Regions from separate parts of the Homo sapiens genome. Here region 1 is linked to region 2. Evidence: promoter capture Hi-C in 16 types of primary human blood cells and fetal thymus (Javierre and others, 2016). All regions are on one chromosome and are shown on one strand. The core of a region is centred on a gene start or on the middle of the fragment in contact, and the rest is flanking DNA. Distances in the headings are between cores, read along the strand shown. Region 1 holds the start of SLC7A1 (solute carrier family 7 member 1). Region 2 holds the start of USPL1 (ubiquitin specific peptidase like 1).

Region 1 (2,777 bases), core at 105-2,604, 1.0 Mb before region 2:
AAACCCAACACATGAGGGCATGGCGGTGATGACGTGAGTATTGGGAAATGTAGGTTATTTATTTATTTTTTTCCTGAAGGCACATGTCTGACTATCCTAGTCACACAAGTCAAACACAACTGCTGTCTGGTTCCCCCATCCCCTGGAAAGGGTCAGGAGCTGAACCAGCAGGCTGTTGTAGTACTACAGTGCAGCTGCCGCTCTGTGTACGCGCAGGTTTTAGAATGACTCTGACCTGCCCATGCCTGGGAAGTTTTCTACTACGCAGAAAGGAACACCCTGAGAATACGGTGTCTTGCTAAAGGCGGAAGAACTTCCTCTCATTCCAAACCATGTGGAGGGCTTGAGGAACCCGGCCTTTCCAGGCCACACTGGGTCACAAGGAAGCCCACCTAGGGGAGACTTCCTCAAAGCAATCTTGGGGACCCAGACGAGAGGTGCAGGCGGCGCGTCCCGGGTTCTAGGGACAAGCGGAGAGCCAGGCGCCCTAGGTCAGGGCGGCCACCGGGCGGGGATGGCAGCAGAGTCCCTGGGCCGGCCACCTGCCGCGGGACCACCCTCCGGGCGGCCGGGCAGAGTCCCCACCCACGGCTGATGACACATCCCCGGACCTCGTGGCGGGGCGGGGTGCTCTGCACCGCGCCATGTAAGGGAAGGTCTCCTCGCCGCCGGCGGGCTCCGTGTGCCTCCCAGTCTGGCCCCCGTGCCCGCCGCCCGCCTACGCACCCCGACCACCCCGTGCGTAGCGGCGCGCGGGTCCCCGGACAGGCGCGCGGAGCGGGCATCGCCAGATCGCCCACGCTTACTCACTCGGTGTTGCATCATGCACCACGCCGCGGTTTCAGGGAGCCAAAATGGACTCCGTGGAGGCGACAGTCGCATGGGCACCAGCCCCGCTCGCCCACTCCGGGGCCCGCCCGGCCCTGGTCCTGGCCCTTCCCAGAGGATGGCAGCGTTCCCGGCGCGGGGGCCCTCGCCACTCCCGCGCCGCCCTGCCGCGGCCCCACGCGGCGCCAGGGCCCCCTCCGTGATGACCCGGGCCCAAGGAGCTGCCCCCTGCGTTGGCGGGGCCGGGCACTCACCAAGCCGGCGGCGGCGGGGCTCCGGCAGGATCGCGAACAGACAGACTGTCGGACGCGCTCAAGGACCAACGGACGCTCGGCCGGCGAGACCGGGCGGGGCGGGGCGGGGCGGGGGCGCGGCGCGCGGGGAGAGGAGTGGAGGCTGCGGTTAGCGGGAGCCCGCGGCCGCGTGCGCGCCTGCCAGGTAGTTGACCCGCTGCTCACACCTGCCTGCGCGGACTGAATGGGCGCCGAGGGCTGGCGGGTTCCGGCGCCAGGTTTCATCAGCAGTGCGCCCGGCCCCCGCCCCTCGCGCTCCGCGCCCCGCGCCCCACGCCCGCCCCCGGACCAGGCAGCCCCGGCCCGCTCGGCCGCGTCACCGCCGGGCACCAATGGGAGCGCGGCGCGGCGGCGGCTGCCAGCCCAGAGGCTGCGGCCGGGGACCGACGCGCCCTTGGTGGGCGGGGCGGCTGAGTCTTCGCGCGCCCAGCGCCCCAACCTGGGGTTCCCGCGGCGGGCGGGCGGGCTGCGCCTCCGCTCGCCTTCTCAGTAGCTCCGTAGGCGTGTGGCCGTTTCTCCGCCAATCTGAGCGCACCGCGCCACAGCATCCTGTGGTCCCCTGCAGATCCCACAGCGCCCTGGCCAGAACTAGTGCTGCAGGTCCGGCCGTGCCAACCCCCTCCCGGCGGGCCCCAGGGAGCTCACACGGAACTCGAGACCAGTTTTCCTTCTCCAAAATAAAAGATTTGGTATGCACTTAAAAGGTTTAAACTGTTTTCTTTTCATTTTAGAGACAGGGTGTTACTCTATTGCCCAGGCTGGAGCGCAGTTCACCTTAACCTCGAAATCCTGGCCTCAAGCGATCCTCCCGCCTGGGCCTCCCAAAGCGCCCTAGGATTACAGTCCTGAAACACTGCACCGGCCTAAAAATTATTATAAATCTTCATGTCTTTGTTATTGGATTATTTTATTACTATTCCTTTGCCCTTGCTAATACCTTATCCTTGCCAGTTGTCAGAAGAGCCCCAAAGCTTGAATCTACCTGTGCCCCCTTGGCAGTGGCAAATGCACAAACGGCTAGTCAGAACGGCTCACTTTTGCAGTTACCCCCCAGGAAGTGGCAGAAGCTTCAGTCCTGAATCACACCGTGCTCACCTTTTAAGCTCCCTCCTTGTCTCCTTTTGTACCAAAAGCCAAGCGAGAATCATAATCTTTAAAGATCCAGTGATCTGGGACTTGGGATAGGTAAACAGGGCATAAATTAATAATGCCATCCTTCTTCTATCTTATAGGAAAACAGAAAAACAGTGGACGGTGTCCGTGGTCTTTGAATCCTTTCTACAGGTCCTTCTCAAATATCAGCTGCTGAACTATTCCCTTGGAATTAGACTAGCAATTTATAAAGTACATAACTGCATGGTGCTAGCTTCAGAAAAAGTGTTCTGTTGTTGTTGCTGTTGTCATTTGTTTGTTTTTTAGAGACAGGGGTCTCACTCTGTCACCCAGGCTGGAATGCAGCGGTACAATCATAGCTCACTGGAACTTCAAATTCCCAGGCTCAAGCCATCCTCCTGCCTCAGCCTCCCAAGCAGATGGAACTACAGGCTTGTGTCATCACGCCTAGTTAATATTTTTTCTACATATAGACACGGGTTTTTGATATGTTGCATAGGCTGGCCTCAAATACCAGCTGTCTAGCGATCATTTTGCCTCAAC
Region 2 (2,810 bases), core at 132-2,631:
TTCAGGAGGAAGTACTACTTTCTCCAATTTTAATCACAATTCATAAAAAAGAAAAACCTAACTAGCTAGATCTTAAATATACAAATACATTAACAATCTAGTAAAGCAACAGAAAAAGGTAAACAAACTAACCAGCCTATTTTTGTCTGGAGAAACCCCAACAAACTGCTGGATTCCTTGGCCATTTGCATTCAGAAGTACCAAAAACTAAAATCCTTTTTACTAAATAATTTCTTCTACACGAGACTTGTTTCCTCCACACCACCCTATCCAAATTGTCAGCATTATTCCAGAATATAATCATTTAGTTTGAGACCACTAAAAAACCCCGCAGTCCAAAATACCAATTGTGGTTTTTCTGTAAAGAAATGGTCAGAAACTACAAATTGTTATCCTAGGACACAGAACCAATCGACCAAAAGGACTTCTGGAATATGCTGCCCCCAAGATTTAGAATGCACAGGCAGAAATAGCATACGCGGTCACGATGTCCCTTAAGCCACATGACCTTCCTACGAAAGCAAAGGCTTAAACTTATCAAATGAGAACTCCCCCTTTCTCTGAAGTTAAAACAAGGCAGGGCAGCTGGAATTAGAGCAGCAGGGACAGATCGGCTGTTGACTAGTCAGAACGGGTCGTGGAATGCAAAGTCCCTGCGCTTTCGCTGCTCCCCTTACCGTGAGAAGATCTGGGAGGGAGGAAAGGAGGAGAAACACCCCAGAATCCTGGTAGAAAAGCCCCTGGCCTCGAAGATGGGCTCTAGGGAGACAGGGAGGGGCAGCTCCGTGTGTGATGACCCTTTGTGAACATGCACTCTGTGGCAGCTTCAGCTCCACCGAGGCTTTGGGAGAGCGGACTACGGATGCCCGGCGCGGCCCAGCTGTGAAGGCCGCGCCGGCGGAGAGGGTCCATGGCACCCCCGCCGGCTTCGGAAGCCCTTCCCTCTCCCACCTCCGCGGGTCACCCCAGGAACCAGCGGCTCCCGACCACGCTCGCGCGGACCACGGAACAGCGACGCGCAAGCAGGTCTCTTTCGTCAGCGTAATCCCTCCGCAGAAAGCCGCGCACTAGTTTTAATCACGCCCCACCCCCTGGCCGCTGGCGCCACCTCCGCCACTCGGGCGCTTTCCAGCAGCTTCCAGAAACGTCGCCTCCCCAAACCCAGCCACTCACACATGGCGGGCTCAGCAGCCACCGGCCCCGCCCCTCCTCGTCGCCGCAGTCGCAACTGCGTCTGCGGCCACAGGGCGGACAGCCACGCCTCTGCGGAGGGCGACCGGAAGTGCTCACGTCTTCACCTTCCCCGCCACGCCACCGTCCTTTCAGGCCCAGCGTGCAGCAGGAAGGAGGACTCTTTTGCCGCGGACTCAAGCCGGAAGCCGCCTTCCTAGTGGAGACGCGAGTGGGGGAGGAGCAGTCCGAGGGGAACGTGGGTTGAACGTTGCAACTAGGGTGGAGATCAAGCTGGAACAGGAGTTCCGATCGACCCGGTACCAAGAAGGGGAGTGCCCGCGGCAGGTAAGGGAGAAGAGGGAGGGGTTTCTTTCCGCTCTCGAAATTGGGAAAAGAGACAGAGCTGGGATGACCTATGGGGTAGTCGGCGCGCTGAAAGGATGGGCTGGGCTGGGACGGGGTTCAAGTGGGAAAGGTTGATGATTAAGGTATAGAGTTGGACTTACAGATCCGTTTGGGCGCAGAGAGGTGAACGCTGAAGAGAAACCAGAGTTTGTTTTCGTTTTCCAAGGAGCGTGGAGATGGGCAGGGTTAACGGACCCTGCGCCTCCTTCGGCTTCTTAGTTTGGGTGTTGAAACTCACCTCCTTTGGTCCTGTTCGTCTCTGATTCAAGACAGTTGGGTTTGGTACCTGACAGGGCTGGGTGCAGAAAGCTGACCCTGTTCCTCGGCTTCCAGGTCGGTTGTGGCCTCGCTTTTGACAGTTCACGTGCCGAGCCTACTCGCTCTCGGAGGGCGAGCTCAAATGGGTGGGTTTAAGGCCCCCTCTTCGAACAGCTGTTTCCCTGGGTTTCTCCATTTTGCACACAGGAGTGTGAATTAAGTTTAATTGAATACTTTTTGCGATTCCCAGGGCCACCTTGACACGTTCATTGTGCTATCTAACTGGGTTCATGCTGGGCTAATAATTCACATTAAGGCTTCTGGAGTATAAGTGGTTCACAGAAGTATGAAAAGGGGATGTTAGAAGAAAGATGCTGGGGGTGAAGTAGAGTTGAGGAAGACAGAACTGGAAAGCTAGGTTGGTTTCACAGTACAATGAGCTTTAGGTCATAATACTACCTTTAGGTTATATTGGGCTGTTTGGACGGAGTTTGCTGTAATCAGGCTAGAGTAAATAGAGAATTTTAAACTAAGCATTGACAGGCTCAGACTTGTAGAGGCATCATTTTGACAGTGATATGGAAGGGAAAGAGGTAGAGATTTGAGACCTTTCCAAAGAACTGTCCACAGAATTTGGTGACTTACTGTGCGAAGAGGGAAATAAAGAATAGGGAACAACTCAAGACTTTCTAGTCTGTGTGTTTGGAAGGATGGAGACGCCCACATTTAAGTGAGATATGGGAAGGAGGAGCAGATTGTTTTTGAAGGGAGGAAGAGCAGTTACTTAGGGTCAAATTAAGTTGTAAAATCCCCCCCGGGATTTTGTATGTAAGTCAAAGTGAATTGTATTTGGAAGAAGAACTGGGGAGCCCACCTCTGGTATTTTTTTTATGTCCCTCATATGGACAAATAAACCTCTGGTATTAAATGAATTTTCTTTTGGGGGATTCTATATATTCGGGATTTCAACCACC

What was found. The method cuts DNA at HindIII sites, captures the fragments that hold promoters and counts their contacts. A CHiCAGO score of 5 or more calls a contact.
Region 1: the fragment with the promoter of SLC7A1 here is called in contact with the fragment with the promoter of USPL1 in region 2 in 1 of 17 cell types (naive CD4 T cells); the score reaches 5.8 in naive CD4 T cells.

What each region holds. Positions count from the first base shown.
Region 1 is chr13:29,594,334-29,597,110 of GRCh38, forward strand. SLC7A1 (solute carrier family 7 member 1) reads right to left here and starts at 1,355. Exons shown (of 13, transcript NM_003045.5): 1 at 1,083-1,355. RefSeq lists silencers at 19-313, 482-1,721 and an enhancer at 242-371. The HindIII fragment of the contact is 14,376 bases long and covers 1-2,090 here.
Region 2 is chr13:30,616,539-30,619,348 of GRCh38, forward strand. It overlaps USPL1 (ubiquitin specific peptidase like 1), which reads left to right and starts at 1,382. Exons shown (of 9, transcript NM_005800.5): 1 at 1,382-1,518. It also overlaps a transcript of HMGB1 not described here. RefSeq lists enhancers at 780-849, 870-1,009, 1,060-1,389, 1,410-1,459. The HindIII fragment of the contact is 4,577 bases long and covers 1-2,810 here.